2 separate regions of the Homo sapiens genome follow, and region 1 is linked to region 2. The links are contacts of gene promoters, found by promoter capture Hi-C in human tissues and cell types (Jung and others, 2019). All regions are on one chromosome and are shown on one strand. Each heading gives the region's core, a stretch centred on a gene start or on the middle of the fragment in contact. The rest is flanking DNA. Distances are from core to core; before and after follow the strand shown. Region 1 overlaps NCOR1 (nuclear receptor corepressor 1). Region 2 holds the start of ZNF287 (zinc finger protein 287).

Region 1 (7,536 bases), core at 4,754-7,253, 480 kb before region 2:
GACATACACTTACTTGTCCAGTCATTAAGTGAACTCATTAGTAAGTGTCTAGAAATCCTTAACGCCCACTTCAGAAGTACTCATGTCAAGTGCACAAACAGATTTTAAACAGATAAAATTTAGTCTCCTTTGGCCCAGTTCATACTCTTTCTTCCCACAGTTTGGATGCCAGAGTGAAGAGAAAGAATAATACATACAGGCCCATTTACTTTCCTCTGTCCATATTAAAGTATTAGCTTGCTGTTAAAACAGAAACACACTGACCCAATATAAATGGAGACTTTTTTTTTTTTTGAGACGGAGTCTCACTCTGCCACCCAGGCTGGAGTGCAGTGGCACAATCTCAGCTCACTGCAACCTCCGCCTCCCAGGTTCAAGTGATTCTCTTGCCTCAGCCTCCTGAGTAGCTGGGATTACAGGCGCACACCACTATGCCCGCCTAATTTTTGTATTTTTAGTAGAGACGGGGTTTCACCATGTTGGTCAGGCTGGTCTCAAACTCCTGACCTCGTGATCCGCTCTCCTTGGCCTCCCAAAGTGCTGGGATTACAGGCGTGAGCCACCGCGCCTGGCCTAAAAAGAGAGATTTTAAGAGTCAGTATGTAACTTTCTTTTCTTCTGTTTTTAACTTAACCACAAGGAAGTAGTATGTAAACTACATTTCAGAAAGAAATCACCTGGGAACCTCAGTAAAATGGGGATTTTAATTCACATGATCTAGAGTGCGGACTGACATTTCTGCATTATTCTAGCAAGCATCCCAGTGATGCCAATGCTCTGGTGCACAAACCACACTTGGCCAGCAAAGCCCTAGCTGAATCAGCTAAGGGCTTGGGAAAACACAGACTGCCAGTCCCCACCAACAAGGGTTGGGTTTCAGTAAATCTGGGGTAAGATCTGAAAATTTATATGTGTAGCAATTTTCTAGGTGATTCTGATGCTCCTGGTGTGGGGATCATACTTTGAGAACAACTGTCTTAGAGGATAGTAACTAGACAAATAAAAAACTTGTGACAATGAGTGAACACTTTAGAAAATGCAAGGCACAGGTTTCTGTTTACAATGATTTCCCAAAACAGAATTTTCCCTCTTATGCATATACATAAAGAGGCTAAGAACTTCTTAAGTATCAAGTTAAAATTAACAACTAACTGAGAGAAATTTTATTAATCAAAATTGGTGATGTATTTAGCCCAAAATTGGAAGGCTTCTGGTGCTTTTGTTAATACCATCCACATTTCCTGGTTTAGCATTAGATTCTAACAAGGCAGCCCACATACTGAGATTCTACAACTACATCTCCACCAGGGCAAAAGTAAGCAAATAATTCGTAATGATTTTCTTCTCAATTTCTATTTAGGCTAAACACATGGTAAAAGCTTTTCCAGGAAGACAATAAGAGCTGCATCAATTAGAACATATTTCTTTTTCCAGTTTGCAAATAAGTGACCTTTTCAAATGAACCAAAGTATTCATAATATAGCTTGTAGTCAAAATGATCACATTAACGTCTCTGTGGAGACAGTTTGCAGATCTAGGTTATGAGACCCAGTCCCATAATGCAGAAAAATGAACTTAAGCCACAAAATAGCCAAAGTGCTAAGAATTATTTATCATTTTTTCCTGAGCTTCTGTTGAGTATATCAGAGATGATCGTGACTAACCTGAGTGATAGAGCCCCGTAGGGATGGAATGCTCTCCACTGAAATTTTGCTGGTTGGAGTTCCCCGAGTTATACTTCCTTCTTGTATGGCTCCTGCGGTACCTGAATACAAACAAAGCTATTAGCAAATTACACCCCCAGCCCCTGCCCCAAAACATAAAAAAACAGCCCCTACTTGGGAGAGTACTCAACTAAGAAGAAAAGAAAAAAGCAGCACAAAACCCATCATGTTTGTTTTATTAAAATGTACTTCCAAAATAATACTAAAGAACTGCTGAAACATGGAACTTCAAGGTTTTAAAATGACTTTTACATGGAAAGAAAACAAATTTAGAATTTAAAGACTATAGTTAAAAAAGCCCATCATTAAAATATATTAATAACTTACTTTAATAAATTTATTGGGGACAAAAGTTTAACATTTCTGCCAACCAGCATATTTTACCTCTGACTACACCTTCATGTTGGGCCCTGACCAACAGACCCTCAGGTTGTGAGTTTTGGCTTCGGGGAGAAAATTCTTCCTGCTTGATGTAGGGCAAAGTAGCTGTGGAAAGGCAGAGAAACATGAAACAATCCAGTACTAAATTACTGGCTGTGATGCTACAAACGTAGATGCATTATGACTGTATTAACTCACTGACCTGATTTGGCAGATTCCTGTTGCCGTGGCAGTCCAAGAGAGATAGATCCCACTGACGGCTTGGGTGTTTCTTGAGTGTAGGAAGCCTGATTATGAGAAGTCAAATAAGTGCCTGGTGTTCCCTAAGAAAAAAACAAAAAAAAATTTAAAGATTAAGCAAACATTGTTTTTTTCACAAGGTCAATTTCACAAAGTCAGCATTCCCATTTCTGTTTAAAAAAAAAAAAAATTATACCCCTTCTACCCAAAACCAAGAATAGTTTTTGTAAAGCAAGAAAATCTTCATCGTAGATTGCTTAAATATAAAAAAAATTTTAAAGGGAGTAGGATATGTCTTCTAAAATTACCATACATTACATGTAAATAGTATTTACTATTAATAAATTACATAAATAAAGCACTTATATGTTGCAATCAAAATGTAAGCTACTATTATTAATATTCATTCCGACTAAAAATGCTATGGAGAGTGGTATCAGCAAATACAGCAAAGTAATAAGGACTTCCAAAAACTCTCTTCCATAAAAGCAACAAGAAAACCTGGAAAAATTTTAAGAATCAACCTTTTTTTTTCTTTTCTTTTCTTTTGTTTTTTTTGTTTTCTTTTTGTTTTTTTTTTTGAGACAGAGATTTGCTCTATCACCCAGGCTGGAGTGCAGTGGAGCAATCTCGGCTCACTGCAACCTCCGCCTCCCAGTCTCAAGCAATGTAAGAATCGACTTTTAAAGAACCCTGGAAATTAACCAAAGGCTTGTAGAAATCTGGAAATATTTATTTAAAAAAAAAAAAAAAAGCTGAATCTAGGTAAAAACAGGTAAAAACAATGGGCTTTGTGGCATTTTAACTTGTTCCATTCTCATTCTCCTGATCAAACTCTATGGAAGTGTTGAAAACCAAAAGCACTCAATCATAGTGCAAACCTATGGTGGCTGCCTGGCAGCCACTAGAAGGGAAAGAGCAAGGATGGAGCTCCTTAAAAGCCTCATTCCCAGATAACTGTCATTGTTTGACTTCTCTGTTGGTTCTCTGGGAGACTCCATTCACAAAGCTGTCTTTATTTGACCTGACTGGAGTGGGAGAGGAGGTGCAGACTTGTCAAAAACAATCAGAGGCAACTGATTAACTTCTCCACTGCCTGAGACAGTAGATAACAGCCAGGGTAAACAACAGGCTAACCAAAACACTTAAAAGGAAAAGCCAGGGAATGAGATGTTCATGGGGTCTGAAAAACTCCAACATATTCCCTAGAACCTAGAATGCTACATGCATGTGCAAGGCTATGAATATGCCTAGGAAAGACATGGGAAGGCCCCACTGCTCTCAACTTAGGCTGCCCTTAAGGCTCTGCACGCCAGGAAGTAAAGACTAAGGCAAAGCTGTTAAGTGCCCAACACATAAAGAGCACCCCTCAGCAAAGGCTGATTTTACTGATTTTAGACATTTAAGGAAATGTCTGTCTAATCATTAGCTGATCACTAAGTTAATCAGACTTCAGTGGCTACACACAACAAATAATACAGACTTTACAGAATTAGTTAAGAAAAGTCACTAAGCAAATAATAACAGCCAAAAGAAACAACAAGCTCTGAAAAGAAAAGTGGGGGTGGGGGGGATCCAAGTTCCAGAGTTGCTACATTATACAAAATGTCCAGTTTTTGACCAAAAATTATAAGATACGCAAAGAAACATGAAAGTGTGAGCCATACATATGAAACAGAGCAGGGAACAGAAAATATTCCTGAGCTTTGGGCTCAGGAATAAAGACTTTAAATCAGCTATTATAAATGTATTCCAAGAACTAAAATAAACCATGTCTAAATTAAAGGAGGCCAGGTGCAGTGGCCTGCCTTCTTTAATCCTTACACTTTGGGAAACCCAGGCAGGAGGATCGCTTGAGGCCAAGAGTCTGAGACCAGCCTTAACAAGATATTAAGACTCTGTCTCTATAAAAAATAAAAAAAAAATTAAAAGCCAGGCATAGTGATGCATGCCTGTAGTTCCAGCTACTCAGGATGCTGAGGCAGGATTGACTGAGCCCAGGAGACTGATGCTACAGTGAGCTAAGATCATGCCACTGCACTCCAGCCTGAGCAACAGAATTGTTTTAGGAGAGAGAAAAAGAAAAAAAAAAAGAAGAAAGTACAAGAATGATACTTCACCAGATAGAGAACACCAACAAAGAGAAAGAAATCATTAAAAAGAACAAAATAGAAATTCTGGAGCTAAAAAAATATAAGAACTAGGGGTGGGGGTGGGTCTCAGCAAACTAAGAACGGAAGGAAACATCTTCAATCTGATGAAAGACATCCATGAAAAACTTAACATTCTGCCTAACAGTAAAATACTGAATGCCTTCCTTCTAAGATGAGCAACAAGAAATTCATGTCCATGTTCACCAATTCACTATTCAGTATTCCTGTATCAAGACCATCCTGGCCAACATGGTGAAACCCCGTCTCTACTAAAAATACAAAAAGATTAGCCAGACAGGGTGGCGTGCACCTGTAGTCCCAGCTACTTGGGAGGCTGAGGCTGGAGAATTGTTTGAAACTGGGAGGCGGAGGTTGCAGTGAGCCGAGATCGTGTCACTGCACTCCAGCCTGGGCAACAGAGCAAGACTCTGTCTCAAAAAAAGGAAAAAAAAAAAAATTCCTAGCCACTCGGAAGGCTGAGGTGGGAGGACTGCTTGAGCCCAGGAGTTGGAGGCTACAGTGAGCTATGATCACACTACTGCAAAGCAAGACTTTGTCCAAAAAAAAAAAACAAAAACAAAATTTAAAGGAATCAAATAGCCAAATATAAATCAAACAAAACACATACAAATCTCTAAAGTGAAAACTTTAAAGCGCTGCTGAGAGATATAGATATACAAGTTCATAGATTAGAAGATTCGATGTAAGATTTCCATTTCTACCTCAAATTGATCTATAGATTTAATACAATCCCAACAAAAATCCCAGCAGATGGGTGGTTCATGGTTTTTTTTTTTTTTTGGTCTTTTAAACCTTAAACTATAATTTGAAGCATTCTCAGATGTTTGGGGGGAAACATCCTCGTAAAATAGTTCCCTATGCTCGCCTTCTGGGGAGGCAGTGCTGAGCAGGTGAATCGTAAAGCATTTATGCATATGTTAAATGCTCACTGCACCCACCTCTTCCCCACAACCTTTGCCTCTTGGGTGGTTTGTGCTACTTTCCCCTTACTTTGCTACATTTCTACAGTTAAGTTGGTTTTACTTAAATGATTCATGTTTGGGGGGGGAAATAAACATCACCCTTAAAACATGTTTCAACTCCTGCAAATAAAATAAATGAAGTGGCGAAAGAAAAGAAAAAAAAAGAGAAGAGAAGAGATCCCAGCAGAATTTTTTTTCTTTAAGTAGACTGACAAACAGATTGTTTCTGCCTCTGCTGCTGCCAGGTGCCCATGAAAAAGTGGGGGCAAAAAAAGAAAAAAAGCAGGTTCTGAAGTATACCCTTGACTGGATCTACCCCGCAGATGATGCTGCCAATTGTGAGCAGTTTCTCCAAGACAGAATTAAAGTGAATGGAAAAGCTGGGAATCTTGGTGGAGGGGTAGTAACTATTGAAAGGAGCAAGAACACAAGCACCGTAACTTCTGAGGTGCCTTTTTCCAAAGGGTATTTGAAATAGCTCATCAAAAAATATCTGAAGAATAAGCTATGTGATTGGTCGTGCGTAGCTGCTAATAGCAAAGAGAATTTCGGATTGTGTTACTTCCAAATTAACCAGGACAAAGAGAAGGAAGATGAGGATTATAACTCATTTACCTGGAATGTTTTGTATGAGTTCTTGAATAAAACTTGGGAACCAAAAAAAGGGGGGAGACAGACATTGATAAGCTGATTATATAATTTATATGAAAATGCAAAAGACATCAAATAGTCAAAACAATCTTGAAAAACAAAAACACTGAAGACTTATACTACATGATTTCAGGACTTACAATAAAGCTACAGTAATCAAGACTGTGGTACTGACAAAACGATGAACAAGTAGATCAGTGGAACAGCATGGAGACAGTGCAGAAACAGACCCATATATACTGTCAAATGATTTCTAACAAAGGAACTGAAGCGATCAAATGAGTAAAAGACGTTTCAACTGGTGCTATTTTTCAACTAGAAATTTAAATAAAGATGAATGTTAATCCTGACCTCATACTATACACAAAAATTAATTTGAGACTGGTCACATGCCTCAATATAAAAGCCAAAATTATAAAGCTTTCAGAAGAAAACACAGGCGAATATCTCACAACCTTGGAGCAGGCCAAGATTTCTTAGCAAAATAAAACTAATCATAGGAGAAAAAAGTGTGTATATATATTTAGACTATATAAAAATTTGAAACTTCTCATCAAAATACCAGTAAGAAAATAAACAGACAAAAAACAGAGAAAATATTTGTAATACATATATCTAACAGAGAACTTTCAACCATAATAAAGATCTACAACACAGTATCAAAAAGACCCAGTAGAAACAGATAATCAGACTTAAATAGTCACTTCATAGGTGTACAAATGGCCAATAAGCACATGAAAAGTGCCCAACATTGTTTGTTTTCAGGGAAATGTAAAATACAACCACAATAAGATATTACTACACACCAAGTATGACTAAAATGACCAAGACTTGACAACAGCAAATGGAGCAATCACGTCTCATACATTGCTAGTGGCAGCATAAAATTGTAGAACCATTCTGGAAAAGTATAAAACATACACAAACCTAGTAATTCCACTCCCAGGTAATTGTACAAGAAAAATAAAAACATATGTCCACAAAGAACCCATTACAAGAATGACCAGCTTTATTCATAGCTGCCAAAAACTGGAAATAGCTCAGGTTTTCATCAACAGGAGAATGGATAAACAAACTGGTATTACTCAGCAATAAAAAGGAAGAAACTACTGATTACATAAAACCCTGGATGAATTCCCTAAAACCATTATGCTGGGTTAAAGAAGACAGACACAAAAGAGTACACCATGTTTGATTCCATTCACAGGAAGTTCTAGAAAAGGCAAAACTAATCTACAACAACAGGAAATCAAATAGTGGTTGCTTCAGGCAGTGGAAGGGGAGATGGCCTGGGAAGGAACATGAGAAAACTTTCTGAAGTGATGGAAGTGTTCAATAAGTTGACAGGGGTGTGACCACTGATGTACAGTTAGTCAAAACTGATGGAACTGTGAAGACCAGACC
Region 2 (7,377 bases), core at 3,273-5,772:
GCTGCACTGTTAAATACATTTCACAATCTGGTAAGGTTAGTGCTTTTCTTGTTTGCTCCTTTTGTTAAAAATATAGTATTATCTTACATGTTTCTTTTTTCTCTTTTTTTATTTGAGAAAGAGTCTTGCTCTGTCGCCCAGGCTGGAGTGCAGTGGCCTCCTGAGTAGCTGGGATTACAGGTGCACGCCACCATGCCCAGCTAATTTTTGTATTTTTAGTAGAGACAGGGTTTTGCCATGTTGGCCAGGCTGGTCTCCAAACTCCTGACCTCAGGTGATGCAGCTGCCTTGGCCTCCCAAAGTGATAGGATGACAGGTGTGAGCCACTGCGCCTGGCCACGTGTTTATTTTTTCATATAATTGTCAGTATCTTTAAAAAAGTCATATTGGAGGCCAGGCGCAGTGGCTCATACCTGTAATCCCAGCACTTTGGGAAGCCAAGGCAGGAGGATCACTTTGAGGCCAGAAGTTTAAGACCAGCCTGGGCACATAGTGAGATCCCATCTCTTAAAAAATCTTTTCTTTTAAATCATACTGGGATTTAAAAATTGTATTAAGTTTATAACTTAGGGAGAACTGATGACTTTATAATATTCAAGGTTTCTTTCATGTTCTACAAAATATTAGACATGAAAGTACTGCAATATTTATATTATGCTTAGTTTTAGATATTTTAAATTTTTTTCGGGGGTGTGATACTGGAGGCATTTTTTTCATTTTATCATTTATCTCATTTTTATATGTATATATGTAGATATATATATAAGTATATATATGTAAGTGATTGATTTTTGCATGTCATTTTCTGTAGTCATTTTATCCAATTTTTCTATTAGTGTTTCTAACACTTTTTCCCTTGATTTTGTTAGGCTTTCCAGGTAAATGTTCACACTATCAATGAATAATCATTTTAACTTGGTTACCAAAAGCTTTCCAATTTCAGAAAAACCAGTTATATTTTTACAGTAAATCTTTCTCTTAAGGTATCTTGAGTTACTATTCTTTAAAATAATATAGACTCATGGCCGGGCGCGGTGGCTCACACATGTAATCCCAGCACTTTGGGAGGCCAACACGGGTGGATCACCTGAGGTCAGGAGTTCAAGACCAGCATGAGCAACATGGCGAAACCCTGTCTCTACTAAAAATACAAAAATTAGCCAGGCATGGTGGCATGCACCTGTAACCCCAGCTACTCCAGAGGCTGTGGCATGAGAATCACTTGAACCCAGGAGGTGGAGGCTGCCGTGGACCAAGATCGCACCACTGCACTCCAGCCTGGGCAACAGAGTGCGACTCTGTCTCAAAAAATATATATAAATTCATGACCAACAGTAATATGACAGAATGCATGGCCTTTAACTACTTGTTAATGAGGAAAAATAATAGTAACAATCATCTATTAATTGCTTAACTGTAATCCAGGCTAACTACAAGTCTCATAATATTTAATACTCACAACCTAAGAGGTAAATTCTATTTATGAGAGTAGAATAACTCAGGCTAAGAGAGGTTAAGTATCTTGTCCCAAATTGCAGTTCCAATGGTAGAGCCGGGAAACAAAACCTAAATCCATCTGGCTGTGGAGGTCAATCTCGTATTCTCTATGTGATATTGCTGACAAAGTCAAAGTAAGGAAAGACATATCAAGGGAAGGCAATGGAAGCACCTTTTCTTTATAGTACATTCACCTACCTTAACAGACCAAGATAACATAGGAGAGAAACTGGGGCTTAAGTCCTTGATAGAGCTTCTGGGGGCACAGTAGTTATAGGGCCAGGTCAGAAAATGTCCTCACACACTAAGAAGGCATTTTAAAATCAGAAAAGACAGTCACACTCACTTTGGTCACCAAGTCATTTAGCCATCCTGTCTGGAAAGCATGTTTTCCTCTGGGGTCTTCCTCTGGGGTATCTTGGGAAAGGGTAGAGTTTTGAGGAGCTAGAGAAGAGAAAGAGGTCATGAGGGAGATTAGTCCTTTCTGAATAGCCTAGGAAACCCCTCACCAAATAGATGCCTACACTTTCTTAAATCGAGAAGTAAGAAGGAAATCAAAAACAGCACTCCTACTTCAAAGCATCAGAGGAAAGGGCCAATGACTTGTCCTAAGACATCAAAACAGACTTCAAAAACAAGCTCGCTCTAAAAATCTTAAAGAGTATGAACAAAATTCACATTTTAACTAAATCCTTATGTGATATTAATTTTGTGAGTTATCTCTTAATAAGGGAATGTTCTCTAGACCCTTTCTTCCTTTTTTGGAAGTATTTTATTGTAAAATTCAATTCACAAAGCAAATGATTTATTAGTAGAATGGTGCAAACCTCTGAAGGTACTTTCTGAGGGCTCACACAGTGGTAATTTGGTTGCGTCTGGTCATTATTTCAAGACGTTTTTCTTGGGGGTTTAGATAATGTGTGTTTGCTCCCAAGCAATCTGGAAGGAGAACACCATGCAGGATGGAGCTCATGTTAAAGCCTTGTTCTCACTCACTAACCTTTGTTCTCCCCAGTTTCTTTCTTTTTAAAAAATGCATCCTGGACCTCTCAGTGCTCTCCCTGATTTCTTTAAAGGAGCTGCTCAGATGTGCTAGTTGTCTTCTTTAACCACCCAGGGATTCCTCCCCTCTCTGCTCTATGATTCTCACCTTCCTCTTCTAGAATCTGAGTCAAATCCTCCACCAGAGTCACTGCTTCCTCGCTGCTCTCTGGATACTGGGACTTTACCCAAGTCCTAACCTCACCAGGCAGGATGGTCAGGAATTGCTCCAGCACCAGCAGCTCCAAAATTTGTTCCTTTGAGTGAATCTCAGGTCTCAGCCACTTAAGGCAGAGCTCTCGGAGTTGACTCAATGCCTTTCGAGGACCAGCCAGGTCTGGGTATGGAAAATTCCTAAAATTCTGTCGACAGGTCTCAGTGTCACGCAAGAATCTTGAAGTAAGGATTTCCTTCTCAACATTGTAGGGTCCACTCTGAGCCTTGTCTGACTTCCACCTTAGAAGGATTTGAGAACGTGAAGAACTGTTCATCCTCTTGCTTGAGGCTAACATTGCTACAGACAGGAGAGTCAATCTGGCAATATCCTTTATTTCTCCAGTAGTGAGCCAACTGCTTGAAGTCTCATGCTAGAGTCACAAGGACACTATATCAAAGGCTGCTGCAGCCGAGGGCAGAACAGAATCAAGGTAGAGTTAGCAGCCTTAGTGACAAATTCTGAGCCCAGAACTTGCAGGGATGGATAAGAGACCCTGAAACACAAGCATGGACCACAAGGTCAAGAATCCCTGGTGTACTCTACTATACATATACACACACAGAAACAGACTCGCAGTGTGCATAGATGAACACACATAAGCTTTACCTTGTCTTCCTCCCCTATATCCTTAGACTTGTAAGGGAACTGCCATCTGCTTGGGGTTGGTGGGGGATGGAGCTGCTATTAAAAAGGTAGTGTCAGAGGCAATGACTCGAATCTAAGCCAAACAACAGATTAAACCTCTAACCTGTTGTAACAAAAATTAAACATTTTTATAGAGAAAATAGTTTCATTATTTTAGTCACTGATGTTACAGAAGCTGTAATGACTGAACGGACTCTCAACAATAACAAAGTGAATCTGTTACTTGGAAGAAACTAGGAGAATTTCTTCTTAATACAGTGCTCAAGGTTCCCAAGGGAACTGTCAGGGGAAAGGGCGAGCCATTTATCTGCGTTGCATGTTAATGCCAGCCGATTCTAGCCTTTCACTATCAGAGGGTTGGGAAGACCAGCGGGTTGGACTGGAAAAGAGTGAAGAGGTTGGTGTGACTTCAAGTCCTTTAAGTGCTTCTATAGGAGACAGTTCTTTAGGGATATATTCGAAACCAGGATTCTCGAAGGAAACCTTAGAACCGGCCTGATCTGGAGGAGAACCGACACCACCTCTCCCCAGGCTCCAGCTCCGAGCCCTGCTGAGGCACAGTCGTGCCACCAAAGACAACTGTTTACAAGGCCCTGCGGAGGTGATGCGACAGCCTTGCCTTGCCTCCTGTCGCCTCCCCTTCCCGGCCAAGTCCCTCTGCCTCTTACTCCTCTTCAGCCGCAGGGTCGAGGTCGAGGGCAGCGGGGGAGTCGGGGACCGTGCGACGCGCAACGCTGGGACTGGGCCCACAGCAGCCTCCACCCCGTCTTTGCCCTCCCGCAAGCCACGAGCACGGGAGCCCGCGCGTGGACGGGCTCGGGCTGTCACTGATCGCGCGGACACTCGCGCGCTGCGCCCGGACATCAATACCTGTCGCTGGGACCCGGCCGACGGGCAGCCGGAGCGGCCCTAAGGCCACAGGCAACAATGGCGACGCTGGCACAGGCGCCTGCGTGGCGGGCTCAGTCCCGAGCGGCAGCGGATCCTCGGGCTCCGCCACTTCCCTTCCCCGCAAAGCACAGAGTGTCCCGGCCAGGAGCTGCACGTTCCAGCCCGGTCCTGAGAAGCCCGGCCCAGAAACCCCGGCGCCTCTGCTTAGCCGCGACCTCGCCTCGGCGTCACTGCGCATGTGCGCCAGAGGAACGCTGCGCGCCCGCAGAGCCAATCGGAGCCCAAGCTGCCGCCTCCCCCTCCCGCGCCTCTGGCCCTGGACCTGTCTCCATGGCAACCTCCTCCACCCATCGCTCTGACTTGCTTGTCAGCCTGCGAGGTTCCGAAGGGAACTTCAAAGTTTCCCCGGGCAGACGCAGGTCTGGTAGACGTCTTGGAGGCCAGGGAGGTGCCAGTAGCTGGAGGAGCGCCGGGAGTTGAAGCCCCGCGCCAACTACGCAGAGAAAACTGGGCGCCAGATTTCCTAGAGGAAGAATGGGCAGGGAAGATGTGGGTCTAAAGGCAGAAAGACTTAATGTGCGGTTTCGGGCTTTACTGTGCATACATACTAACTGTGAAAGGTTTTCACTTCCTCCTCAGGAATTTGATTCTGAGACTCTCAGATTGGGGGAAAAAAACCCATGTTCTTTCTTTCTTTCTTTTTTTTCTTTTGAGACGGAGTCTCGCTCTGTCGCCCAGGCTGGAGTGCAATGGTGCGAGCTCGGCTCACTGCAACCTCCGCCTCCTGGGTTCAAGTGATTCTCCTGTGTTCAAGTGATTCTCACTTGAACTTCCTGGGTTCAGCCTCCCGAGTAGCTGTTATTTCTAAGAGACACAAAACAAAAATACATAAAACACTGGAAAAATAAAAGCATAGAAAAACATATTCAAGGTGTTCCCGTTATCTACTGTTCTATTAACAAACCACCCCAAAACTTAGTGGTTTTGAAGGACAATCACCGTATTATGCTCATAAATTTCATGGTGAGGAATTTGAAAGGGGAACTGAGTGGGTGGGCCTTTGCCTCATTATGTCTGTAGCCTCTGTTGGGATGATTTGATGGCTGGGAGGGCCCGCTTCCAAGATGGCTTTTCCACTCACATGTCTACTGCTTGGGAGGAGATGGGCTAAAAGATGAACTCGGCTTGTGTTTGACCAGAGTGCCTCAATGTGGTCTCTCCAGCATAAAGGACTGAGGGCAGCTGGACTTGTTACATGGTGGCTCTGGGCTCCAAGAGTGAGCATTCCAGTGAACAAGAGAGAAGCGCCATGGCCAATTATAACATGGCCTTGGAAGTCACCTAACACCAATTCTGTCAGACTCTTGGTCAAAGCAATCACAAGCCTACAGAGAATCAAATGGAGGCAGAATCCTGTGAGGGTGGAGGAGGACTGTCAAAGACTCTTAATATCACCACACCAGGAAAATTTTAACAAAAAGAAAGTTGGACCGGGCGCGGTGGCTCACGCCTGTAATTCCAGCACTTTGGGAGGCCCAGGCAGGTAGATCACCTGAGGTCAGGAGTTTGAGACCAGCCTGGCCAACATGGTGAAACTCCGTCTCTACTAAAAGAACAAAAATTAGCCTGGTGTGGTGGCGCACGCCTGTAATCCCAGCTACTCAAGAGGCTGAGGCAGGAGAATCACTTGAACCTGGGAAGCGGAGGTTGCAATGAGCTGAGATTTTGCCACTGCACTCCATGTACTCCAGCCTGGGCGACACGAGCAAGACTCCATCTCAAAAAAAAAAAAAAACAAACTTGGGGAGTGTGATGGTCTTTTGATGTGTCAACTTGGCTAGGCTACAGTCTCTTGCTATTTAAGTAAACACGAATCTAGGTGTTGCTGTAAAGGCATTTTGTAGATGAGATTGAAGCCCATAAACCCAGTTGGACTAAGTAGCATGGGAGATTATCCTAGATAATTTGGGTGGGCCTGATTCAATCAGTTAAAAGCTTTCAAAAAAGAACCGAAGTTTCCCTGATGGAGAAGAAACTCCATCAGCGTACCACAGCTTCCAGCCTGCCCTTCCTGATGGGGTGCTCTTATGGACTTTGGACTCACCTGGTCACCCCCTCAATCGAGTAAGCCAACTCTTTGCCACAAGTATCTTAAATATCTACTGGTTCCGCTTTTTTGATTGAACCCTGACTGATACAAGTAATAATTCTAATATCTGATAAGCTAGAATTTGAGAAGATTAAAAGGGAATAAATAAGAGTGCTTGATGGAAAAGATATATTTATCATAAATATACAGCATGTCCCTAACACTAAGGCCTCAAAACATACAAAGCAATAGCTGACATACCTGTAGGGAGGAAAACATAAACCAACAACCAAAGCTGGAAACTTAATACGCCCTATAGTGCACACTGTGGTGCTGCCAGGATCCTCCTTCAGGGTTGAGGCATCCATCCCAGCAGCTGCCGGGTGAGTGGCTGCTGATGGCTCACAGCAAAATACTTCCTTGGGAGTTGTCCTAACTGCAGGGGGCTGCCTCTCACAAGTCACGTCTTCTCCCCGGGGGAAGTCCATATCCAAAGACTGCTCAGTGCAGGCCTCAAAGACCTGGCCCCCTGTCTTCAACTTGCAGCCTCTATAAAGGGCCATCTTGGCTTAAGAGTTCCCTGTGAGACCAACTGAGGCCTCTGTTGCAGTCATACAGCATTTAAACCTATTACTCTGTCCAGTTATCCTTATATCACTCCTGTACAGGCATTTTTTCTAGAGAACACTACCCAGTAATTACCTTGTATGCAATTCTCCATCTCAGAATCTATTTATAGGGAATCTGCCCTACACCAGTTGGTACCAGCAGTTGTTCCAAGAACGCAAACTCTAAAATGGAATTTTTTTCTTTTTGAGGTGGGGTCTTGCTCTGTCGCACAGGCTGGAGTGTAGTGGTGCAATCTCAGCTTACTGAAACCTTTGCCTCCCGGGTTCAGGCAATTCTCTCTGCCTCAGCCTCCTGAGTAGCTGGGATTACAGGCACCCACCACCACACCCGGCTAATTTTTGTATTTTTTAGTAGACACTGGGTTTCG

Evidence for each region. Contacts are between HindIII fragments. The study calls those that stand out against the background at their distance.
Region 1: a fragment that was not itself captured here is called in contact with the fragment with the promoter of ZNF287 in region 2 in 1 of the 25 tissues and cell types used here (lymphoblastoid cells).

What each region holds. Positions count from the first base shown.
Region 1 is chr17:16,078,300-16,085,835 of GRCh38, forward strand. It overlaps NCOR1 (nuclear receptor corepressor 1), which reads right to left. Exons shown (of 46, transcript NM_006311.4): 24 at 2,308-2,428; 25 at 2,109-2,210; 26 at 1,665-1,765. It also overlaps the pseudogene RPL22P21. Among named protein-coding and RNA genes, the nearest start is that of SNORD163, 71 kb to the right of the region's middle. The HindIII fragment of the contact is 4,077 bases long and covers 3,966-7,536 here.
Region 2 is chr17:16,564,682-16,572,058 of GRCh38, forward strand. ZNF287 (zinc finger protein 287) reads right to left here and starts at 4,523. Exons shown (of 6, transcript NM_020653.4): 1 at 4,271-4,523; 2 at 2,648-3,248; 3 at 1,844-1,941. The coding sequence starts at 3,050. RefSeq lists enhancers at 3,586-4,087, 4,088-4,587. The HindIII fragment of the contact is 5,740 bases long and covers 2,143-7,377 here.